3 separate regions of the Homo sapiens genome follow, and regions 1 and 3 are each linked to region 2. The links are contacts of gene promoters, found by promoter capture Hi-C in blood cells and fetal thymus (Javierre and others, 2016). All regions are on one chromosome and are shown on one strand. The core of a region is centred on a gene start or on the middle of the fragment in contact, and the rest is flanking DNA. Distances in the headings are between cores, read along the strand shown.

Region 1 (3,673 bases), core at 589-3,088, 130 kb after region 2:
TGTGGAATAATTTTCAGTGTGGTCCATCCTAAGTGCTCCATAAATGTTGGATCTTTGTGTTATTGCTGTGATTTACTTCATGCCTTTGGTGTGAATTTAGTTGTTTATGTATCAGCCTGTCCGCTGAGACTGTTGAGCTCTCCTAAGGTCGGGAGTCTTACGTTTTATATTTTATCCCAGTGAGTGGTAGGCAGTGTATTATTCTCAAGACACTGAGGTGGTTCTTATCTAATATCTGTAATTCTAAAAGTTTTCAAGGTTTTTAAATTAATTCAACCAACCATTCTTTCAACAATTTTGAGGTTAAAACTTCTAACATATCCTTGATCACCTCAATTCTGGTATTTCTATATTCCTGTACAAAAAGAAATGTACAGACAGTGTGGTGAAACTTTACAAAAGATTAAGTGTTGGGATGGGGAAGCGGGGACATAAGTAATAAGAGGGCTTAAATCTGCCTGGAAAAGGTGTTTATTCATTATGTCCTCATATGATATGTTAAGGAGTTCAACCTTACTGGGAGGCAATGGGAATTAAATAAGGGATTTATTGTGAATGATAAAGTGATATTATTACTTTTACTTTTTTAAATTATACTTTAAGTTTTAGGGTACATGTGCACAACGTGCAGGTTTGTTACATAGGTATACATTTACTTTTAAGATTACATTGGAATCACTGCCATAGATGGTTTGTCGGAGTGAGAGAGGAAAAGAAAATTAGTTAAGAGGGCTTGAACTTTGGCAGTCATGGAGAGAGAGGGGAGAAGCGAATGGGCTGTGCAGATGCTGAGCAGGCAGAGCTGACAGGAAGGATGGCCCTTGTGCAGGTGCGGCAGACCCGGTGACTCAGAAAGAAGTGTGAAAGGGAGGCGTGTAACTCAGAGGGAGAGAGCAGCCTCGGTGTGGTTGACCTTCGTGGGGGCAGCTTCAATCCTGCAGGAGCACAAGGCTGATTGCTGGAGATCAATAAATGCGGAAGATAAGATAGTGGGGGTGTTGAGCAGATTTCACTTCATTCAGTAAGTTTACCTGCAAAAGGAAGAAGAGAGAAAAGGCAGCAGTAGCATGAAAATGTGTCGATTTTGTCAATTGGAGCATTCTGTATATTCTGTTCAATTGATGGCGCTTTATTTTACTGCTTAACTATAAAAGCCATTGACTGCATGATTAAGTACATAATGCCAATAAAAATGACCTTCCATCCTGTTGTTTTTTAATCACCAAATGACTCCCTGGCTGTCAGTAATAATGAATTCATACACACCAACAATAACAAAATGTTTATTTAGGACAGGACCTCACGTGAGGCCAGCCTTCCTAAGGAAGTGAACAGTTACCTGCTTTAAGGAACTGTTTGCAAATGGACCTCCTGTCTTATCTCTCACAGACCAAAAACTCCTTTTCAAACAAAAAACCTGGGCATATTTTGCCAGCAACAAATCCGGGAAAATATCTTAGTAGGAACTGGGAAACACTGCATTAGAATCTGAACCCTTCAGTAGCTCGAAGTCACCATGCTTTCTTTTTTTTCTTTATAGTACAATTTGTTTTTCAGAAGAGTTTTACATTTACAGAAAAAAAGAGAAAATAATATAGTTTTTATATACTCTGTACCATATGTTACAAATACTAAAGCAATGTTGATATATTATTATGAACCATATTTCTTTTTTTTATTATTATACTTTAAGTTCTAGGGTACATGTGCACAACGTGCAGGTTTGTTACATAGGTGTACACATGCCATGTTGGTGTGCTGCACCCATCAACTCGTCATTTACTTTAGGTATTTCTCCTAATGCTATCCCTCCCCCAGTCCCCCATCCCCCGACAGGCCCCGGTGTGTGATGTTCCCCGCCCTGTGTCCAAGTGTTCTCATTGTTCAGTTCCCAACTATGAGTGAGAACATGCAGTGTTTGGTTTTCTGTCCTTGTGATAGTTTGCTCAGAATGATGGATTATGAACCATATTTCATCTTTTACTCGGGTTTCCTTGGTTTTTACCTGTTATCCTTTTTCTGTTCCAGGATCCCATTCAGGATACCACATGGCATCTGGGTGTCTGTCCCTTTAGGCTCCTTGTGGCTGTGCCAGTTTCTCAGATGTTCCTTGCTCCTTGTGTGCAATGACTTTGATAGTTTTGAGGAGTACTGCTCAGGGATTTTGCAGGATGCCTGCTATTGGGATTTGTCTGATGTTTTTCTCATGAGAAGAGTGGGATGAGGAGTTACTGGGGGGAAGACCACAGAGTAAAAGTCGCATTGTTATCACATCCTATGCAGTGGAGATATTATCAACATGATTTTTAACCCTTAATGTTGGCCTTGAGCACCAGGAAGGAAGTCACTAAGTGCAGCCCACACCAAGGAATGCGAAGTTAGGCTTCACCTCTTTGCAGGGGTTGGGGGCGGGTATCTACATAAATTATGGGAAATTTTACTGTATGAGAGATTTGTCTCTTCTCTCATATTTATTAATTTATTCAACCATTTATATCTTTTGAATCCGTGGATGTTTATATTTGGGTTATAATCCGACATTACTTAATGCTCAAAGTGTTTCAGCTTTGGCCTTTGTTGATACTTTCAGCTGGCTCCTGTACTCTTCTGACATGTCCTATTACCCTGACACTTTCTTTTCTTTTCTTTTTTAACACTTTGTTACTTTCTGCTCATAGTTTATATGGGTGTATATGTCTCTCTCTCTCTCTCTCTCTCTCTCTCTCTGTGTGTGTGTGTGTGTGTGTGTGTGTGTGGTTAAGGGGAAACTGTCTAGGCTTGTACTTGGGGCTCTTTAATACCCTTCCGTATTTTTTGTCCATCTGATATCTCTCACACCGAGAATATGTTTCTGTCTATCATTCATCTCTCATAGTTTCCACTTTATGAACAAGTTGATGTGTTACTTGGTGCATAAGTATGAATACCTTCTATATATTAATGTGAAATATTTAAAATGATTAAATGGTGTTTAATTTGTCCCACTGAATGTTTTTACTCAAATTCTCTTCTGGGTGCTGTCAGGACCACCATCCCGATTTTCTCATTGATTCTATTTGCCTTGTGCATTTTGTAGACCCTTTAGTCTTTCTGAGTCACTTTGTTTTGGGTGTGTCTCTTGCGTGTAGCGTGTGGTTGGCTCTTGCCTTGTGAGCCGAGTTGAAAATGTGGATATGGTGGATATGATTGGTTTCAGCTCTGACATATTACTATTGTTGAACTTGCTGTGTTTTCTATTATGTCATTTTTCTGAAGGCATAGTATTAGTGTGGTTTTATTTGTTTTCGCTGGTGACCTATACAGTGTTTTGGAGGATGTGTAAAGTGATAATAGTTAAGTGATTGTCAGCCACCAAGAAATTCCCCACCACTATTTCTTTTTAACATTTATCATTCTTTTCTTGTTCTCAAAAAGCTATAAAAAGGCAAACGCCCTTAGGATGTCCAGAATGGCTATGATTTGTCATGTCCTTTTGGCAAACGTATTAATAAGGCTTTTAATAAAGAAATGAAAATGTATCTGACATTTTCAAAAAGCCAGTCAAGATTCAGAGTGTTATTTATACCTTAGCAGTCAATTCCCTCAATATTCATATAAAAATTTAATGAAATTACAATTAAAATCCAGCAGAGTGTACCCAATTTAGAACTGAATAAAATGATCTTAAAATGCA
Region 2 (3,508 bases), core at 707-3,206:
AGGACTTCCATTCATTTTTACATGCTAATTTTATTTTTTGGATTCTGAGGATTTTAGCTGATTCATTCCATTTGCAGTAAGACAAATGAGGAGGTTCCTGGTTAGGGCTCAGGTTTTAGACTCTAATAAATCTGAGTTCAAATGTGGATGGTAACATTTAACAGCTGTGTGATACTGGGCAATTACTTAATTTCTCTAAGCTTCAGTTTCCTAAAGTATAAAATGGGGTTAAAAACTATGTAGAAATTAGAATGAAGATAAAAATCAGATAATCTACAAAATGTGCTTTAAAAAGTAGTAAGTCTTGATAATTTTAATACTATAATGCTTGCTGATCCAAGCAACATTTAAAATATAAATATTGCAAAATATTAACGAGATAAAAAGGTGGGAAGAAGCTTCACTCTTTAACAATAAGCAAAGCTTTCAGGAGAATGAATGCAAGCAATTAGTACACAATAACGATTCATCATTCATTCAGTTCTGACTAAATTGTCCTGAAGTGACACATGAAAATAAACCGGCAGGTTTTATTCAGTGACTATGGAAGGTGATTAAGTGCTATGCTATTGCACTTAAAAAAGAGAGAGGAAAAAAAGGAGTAAGTGACGAATGCAACTGAAGTATCCTTCATGCAACCCTTGACAAGCTGTGTTTCCCTAGGAAACAAAGGGTTTACAGCTGCCTATCTTCCACAGCACTTAGTGACAATTTGGGACAATCTCAGCAAAAAGAAATGAGCAGACAAAGACGCTAGAAGGGCTTTGGGATCCCAAAAGTTAATGAAAGACCAAGTGTAAGAAGAGAAATAAAGTAATTCCCTCCAAGCCTAAAGTCTCTCCCGCTCCAATGCCCCCTGTACCCTCTCGGAAAATGGAAAATCCCTAAGGAGTCTACATCATTCCTCTGCCCGTTCCCCCTACTCTCCCCCAACCCTTCACGGATTCCCAGTGAATACCTGGCCTCGGGCAAGCTCCGTTACCTCTGTGAACCAGAGAATCCCAGCTGTAAAATGAGATCTTGATGGTTTCCTGCGGGGTTGCCATGAGAAAGAATCAACATGTACGCAGGTAAAGCAGGCAATACAGTTCCAGGGAGTCAAAAACGGGAGAAATCGTCCCACGACCTGGGGCTTGGGTCTAGATGAAGAGCACAGCATCAGGAGGCCAGGCTTCTAATGCGGCGCAGTCTACAGCGCTGTGGACTCGGCAACTCCCATCACCTGCCGCTGCACAAACACCCTGCTTGCTGCCCCCATAGACCGACCCCCGCCTGACGCCTCCCAGACCCCCCCACCTGACGCCCCTCAGGCCCCCCGCCTGACGTCCCAGACACCCCCACGACCGGATCCCCCAGACCCCCAATCTGACGCCCCACTTCCCCTACTTGACTCCCCACACATCCCCCGCCTGACGACCCCCCGACCCCCGCCTGACGTCCCAGACACCACCCATCTGATCCCCCAGACCCCCAATCTGACGCCCCACACCCCCCACTTGACTCTCCACACACCCCACACCTGCCACCCCACGTAAACCCCGCCTGACACCTCACAGACCCTAACCTGACGCCCCACAGACCTCCCCCGCCTCCTGCCGCCACACACACCCCAAACCCCGCCCCGAACACCCCCCACCTGCCGCCCCACAGATTCCCCCCTCTGACGCCCCACAGACCCCCAACGTGACGCCCTACAGACCCCAACCTGACGTCCCACAGATACCCCGCCTGACGCCCCACAGACCTTCCCCCGGTCTGTTGCCCCACAGACTTCTCGCCGCCTGCTGGACCACACCTTCCACTTGACTCCCCCCACACCGTCAATCTGCCACCCCCCACCCCCCCCACCCCAACCCCCCCCAACCTCCCAACCGCCCCCACCTGCCACCCCACACCCTTCCCACCTGACGTCAAGCCTGAAGCTCAGCCGCTAAGCCGGAAGCTGGCGCCAGAAGATGCCGGTTCCGCCAGCTGCTCGCCGCGCAGGCGCAGGGGAGACCCGGGGCCTTGCAGTCACCGGGCTCAAGCACGCCGGCGCAGCCAGGCTCGCGATGGGAGGTGGGGGGGCCGGCAGCCCCGTGGGGCTGCGGAGGCGGGACCTGCAGGATCCTGGTTAGGGTCTTGAGTACACACGGCTCCTATTGGCCTCGGCAGCAGATGCTCTCTGCAAGCAGTTGATCCACACGCCAGTGGATTTTGTCTCGAGGGAGACCTAAGATCACTTTGTGCTCTGGCTAGTGATAGCCTCTAATTCTTGTTCTCTGTACGTAAAACAGTGGTAACTATACTGATTTCGCTGGTTGTGAAAACTCCCAAGAGAGAACAGGACATCCTCCCAACTCAAAACGTTGGTTGTTTCATTTAAACTTTTAAAAAATAGGCTTTTGCAAACTATATAGAGCTGTTTTTTTTTTTAAATGATGTTTGCTACTGTGGTCTCAGTTCTCTTAATACAGAAATAATACATAACAATACATAACTTACAATATAGAAATAAACCGTTGCATGACCAGAAATCAACTATGGACTCTTCTAGTATCTGTTTAAGGTTTAAAAATAAAGTTATTTAACAAACCTTTATTGAGCACCTATTATTATATAGTAATGGTGCTAGATATTCAGGGTGGAGAGATTATAAACAACCCCAGTTTTTGTGTTCCAGGAGCTGTTGGTTTCCACCGAATTTTTGCTGTGGTCAGTCCTCTTTCGCCATGGAGAAGTGAGAAGTTATTCATAAAGAGGGGTGGAAACAACTTTTAGAACTATTTTATTTTAGCATAAAATATTGCTTTACAATAAAATAAATTTTGCTGCAGTGGGCCCTGATAAAACATATTAGAGCTGTTAAGTGCCCTTAGAGGTTGTGTAATGTATAAAAACCTCCTTTTTCAAAACTGACACATTTCATTCAGTGCTAGTTTGTAGCGGAGGTTCCGTCTAGCCCAAGAACATTCAGTTATTTACTTCGTATGTCTAATTGACCTAATATGCCTGAATATCTAAAATCATCTGTGATGTTGTAAAGTCTCATGATATTGTTTTGTGAGTATCTGCTCTTCAATTTAGTTATCAATTTATTTTGGAGGAAAAATGAATAGTGTTAAGGTAGAGGAGCCTCCACTTGCCCATCTTAGGAGAGGGTACCTATCCGTGTACATTTGTAGCTTGTTCAACCTCTACTGAGCTCCTACAATGTCAGAAGCTGGACTTTGTATTAGTTACATGAGAAGAACCATGAATTATGAAACCAGGCAAACTCCAAATTGATTCAAAGCCCAGTCTCCATTTCATCATGTTATTTTAGTTGATTGGTTCAAAGACAATCAAGGGTTTTTTTCACTAAGTATCTTCTAGAGTTGCCATGATTATTAATTTATTTATGTAAATGGTCTACTTTATATATGCTTGGCACTTATTCCGTGATCAAGATTAGGAAGCTATGATTCAAGAACCCAGCTTTGACCTGGAGCTCTCCATCTGGTAGCAAGACACATATGTTCAATAACAA
Region 3 (3,996 bases), core at 689-3,188, 200 kb after region 2:
CTCAGGTGGTTATGTGAGCAATGGGGAGCGGCTGTAAATACAGATGACCCTTGGCTCGCTGGCCTGCCACTCACCTCCTGCTGTGTGGCCTGGTTCCTAGTAGGCCATGGAACTGTACCAGTTCATGGCCTGGGTGTTGGGGATCCCTGTCCTAATGGGTGTTCCAAGAGACATAAAATAGTTGCTTCTTAGGAGCAAAGGATTCAGAGATCAACTCTGCCAGGAACTGTGGAGCTCAAGAGTGAATCAGATGCACTTTGCAGCGGGCTTGGACAGCAATGGGGCCATGGGGGAGCAGCAGCAGAGGCTAAGACACCCCTCCAAGAGAATGGGAGAGTTTTGAGGAAAGATCGTGTCTCATTAACTCCTGCATCCTCAGTGCCTAGAATAGTGTTTGGAACATGTCAGGTGCTCAGTAAATATTCATGGAATTAATAATATCTTTGGGCAAATTATATTTTTGAAAAGATTAAGAAAATCTTTGGTGTACTATTATTTAAATACATAATGGAATCATTTGATAGAGAACAGACATCAAAATTCCCTATGCTAGAAATGTGGGACAAAGCTCTTCTTTTCTCTGTGAGCTCTCTTTTTCTTGTTTATGTAATGGTTCTTTGAGTGGTTTTATGATTGCTAAGACACAGGAAAAAGCAGTTGCCTAATGATTACCCATAGTTTTCCAATTTGGGGGCTAATACTACTAAAACCATGTTGTTTTGAGGTGTTTTTAACCTAATCTTTTTTTTACAAAAACAACTCTTTTTGCCACTCCAGTATGTGGTTTTATTTGTGTTTATGGGAAATCAACAGGAAGTCAAAACCACGTTTCTGCTGTGGTATCTATTCACCTTTTGGAACTATTGAATAAAGTGATTTTTTCTATTTATTTAAAAATAAATGGATGGTTAACCCTTTTAAAGATAATTCTGGTTGCAGAAGCATATTAAAGATGTATGCAGTTAAATACCATTTAATACTAGTTGCATTCAAATGGCCATTTGACTTGGGGATATTTATGGTTCATTGGTTCTGATTATGCTGACTTTTAATATTTCCTAATTCAGCCTTAGTGTACTCTACTAAGTACTAAACTTTTAATATTTCATAATTCAGGCTTAGTGCACCCTACTGAGTACTAGACGTTTAACATTTCTTAATTCAGCATTAGTGCACTGTATTAAGTACTAGTGTAGTTGGTGGAGGCAAATTTGCATGCAGGACACACTTTCAAGGGATTCTGGAAAATGTGATTTTAGCCTTCTTACCTTTCTAAAAAGAAGTTTGGAATGGAGTTTCAAAGAGCCAATCCAGTCATCAAACACATTCATCATTAACTGATTGAGAGACAATTGCCTCCAACTCCAGGCATCACCTCTGTGTCCAAGGCAAGATGAAAGTGCAAGGCCCAGTGAAGTCCCAACTGTCATTTGTCTTTCCCTGATACCACATCCCATTTCCCAGCAGTGTCCTGCCTATACTTCATTACTCATAAAGGTCTCATAAGGCCACATCTAGCTGCAAAGGAGGAAGACAGAGGGCAGGAGCTCTGAAATGCCTTGACCAGGCAATATGTAGTGCCTGCTTTATCCACTTAAGTGTCATTCAAGAATCAAAATAAAGAATACTTTCAAGAACTCATGCTTTTAGGGACCACACAGTCTTATTGAAAAAAGAGCACTTGATAATAAAATCAGCTATTTAAGAGATGAATGAAGATGCTCGGCTTACGGGATTAATGGTACATGTTGAATCCAGTATTAAAGAAAGGTATGGAGCAGGAAATAAATGGTGTAAATAACATAACACCAAATCAACTCAGGCGGCAGTAGGAAAGAGAAGAGGAGTGGAAGAGAGAAGTGTAAATATTTGTATCTCTAATTGTGAGGAGTCAAAAGAATCACCTAAAGATAATAACTTAATTGAAGTTTAAGAGCATAAATAAATTAAAAAACAAATTGTAATAACATAATCAAATATATTACTGATATAGGGAAGATGAAAGGAAAAAAGAATAATTTATGATTTTTTAATAACTTCATCTGGAACTTAAAGAAAAGCAGAGGTGAATATATCTTTAGTTCTTACTATTGTTCACCAGTGTCCACCGCTGTTTTTTTTTTTTGTTGTTGTTGTTTTTTTACTTTAAGTTCTGGGATACTTGTGCAGAATGTGCAGGTTTGTTACATAGGTATACATGTACCATGGTGGTTTGCTGCACCTATCAACCCGTCATGTAGGTTTTAAGCCTCATATGCCTTAGGTATTTGTCCTAACGCTCTTCCTCCCCTTGCCCCCCACCTCCCAACAGGCCCCTGTGTGTGATGTTCCCCTCCCTGTGTCCATGTGTTCTCATTGTTCAACTCGCACTTATGAGTGAGAGCAGTGTTTAGTTTCCTGTTCCTGTGTTAGTTTGCTGAGAATGATGGCTTTCAGCTTCATCTATGTCCCCACAAAGAACATGAACTCATTCTTTTTTATGGCTGCATAATATTCCATGGTGTATATGTGCCGCATTTTCTTCATGCAGTCTGTCACTGATGGGCATTTGGGTTGTTTCTAAGTCTTTGCTATTGTAAATAGTGCGGCAATAAACATAGGTGTGCAGTGTCTGTATAGAATGATTTATAATCCTTTGGATATATTCTCAGTAATGGGATTGCTGGATCAAATGGTATTTCTGGTTCTAGACCCTGGAAGAATCGCCACACTGTCTTCCACAATGGTTGAACTAATTTACACTCCCACTAACAATGTAAAAGCGTTTCTATTTCTCCACAGCCTCGCCAGCATCTGTTGTTTCCTGACTTTTAAATAATCGCCATTCTAACTGGTGTGAGATGATATCTCATTATGGTTTTGTTTTGCATTTCTGTAATGACCAGTGATGATGAGCTTTTTTTCATATATTTGTTGGCCACATAAATGTCTTCTTTTGAGAAGTGTCTGTTCATATCCTTCACCCACTTTTTGATGGGGTTATTAATTTTTTTTCTTGTAAATTTGTTTAAGTTCCTTATAGATTCTGGATTTTTTAAAAGTATTGCACACATATTATTAACATTTAAAAAGAAATTTTTAAGACAAAATAAACCTAGACTATATTCCTTCTAAACACATAGAAGCAAGGCACACACACAAGCCCCAAATTAAAAACATAGAGAAAAATGGAGAAAAAGAGAAAAATTTGAATAATTAATAAAAAGGAAATGGCTTTGGGAGCCTGAGGGCAGAGGATCACTTGAGGCCAGGAGTTCAAGAGCAACCTGGGCAACATAGCAAGACCCTGTCTCTACAAAAAATTAAGAAAGAAATTAGGGAGGTGTGGTAGCCCTACCTGCAGTGCCAACTACTTGGGAGACTGAGGCAGGAGGATCACTTGAGCCCAGGAGTTTGAGGCTGCGGTGAGATGTGATGGTGCCACTGCATTCTATCCTGGATGACAGAGCAAGACTCTGTCTAAGAAAAAAAAAGAAAGAAACAAAAATAGGAAATGTAAAAAATATACAGCAAAGAAGACAAAGCTGAGATCAAAGTCACTTGTCATATCCATAAATGTAGATGAGATAAAACAAAAAAATTAAAGGAAAACTTTTCTGACTTTATCAAATACAGAAGCCAAACATTTGCACACAAAACAATGAATTCTAGAACATACTTATAAATAAATACTGAGGATAAAAGGAAAGAAAAAGAATTAACAGATAAACGTATACAAAATGAATTCAGGTATTGTAAGATTAAGTCATGCATGGTTAAATACAAGGCAAAAATACTAAAAGACATAAAGAGATACTTTATGTTGATGAATGTTCAATATAAGATAAAGATTTACAACCATCATGAATCCAGTGCCACCAATATTGTACATGTTGTACACTGAATTCCAAGAAAACGTCTCTTTCAAGTGTTGTGCTGTGGGCTCTGATACATGTGAGATTTTATTTTGGGTACTGCGTACAGTGAGAGAGACAGAAGACAGGAGACTTAACCTAG

What was found. The method cuts DNA at HindIII sites, captures the fragments that hold promoters and counts their contacts. A CHiCAGO score of 5 or more calls a contact.
Region 1: a fragment that was not itself captured here is called in contact with the fragment with the promoter of LIG4 in region 2 in 1 of 17 cell types (monocytes); the score reaches 5.7 in monocytes.
Region 3: a contact is called between a fragment that was not itself captured here and the fragment with the promoter of LIG4 in region 2, in 1 of 17 cell types (non-activated CD4 T cells). The highest score is 5.8, in non-activated CD4 T cells.

What each region holds. Positions count from the first base shown.
Region 1 is chr13:108,345,728-108,349,400 of GRCh38, forward strand. The region is part of intron 2 of LOC105370355 (a long non-coding RNA gene); the gene reads left to right. Among named protein-coding and RNA genes, the nearest start is that of TNFSF13B, 78 kb to the left of the region's middle. The HindIII fragment of the contact is 9,906 bases long and covers 1-3,673 here.
Region 2 is chr13:108,213,580-108,217,087 of GRCh38, forward strand. It overlaps LIG4 (DNA ligase 4), which reads right to left and starts at 1,957. Exons shown (of 3, transcript NM_206937.2): 1 at 1,905-1,957; 2 at 959-1,031. RefSeq lists an enhancer at 1,882-2,176 and a silencer at 2,020-2,159. The HindIII fragment of the contact is 5,824 bases long and covers 422-3,508 here.
Region 3 is chr13:108,411,061-108,415,056 of GRCh38, forward strand. No RefSeq gene overlaps it. Among named protein-coding and RNA genes, the nearest start is that of TNFSF13B, 140 kb to the left of the region's middle. The HindIII fragment of the contact is 5,337 bases long and covers 1-3,996 here.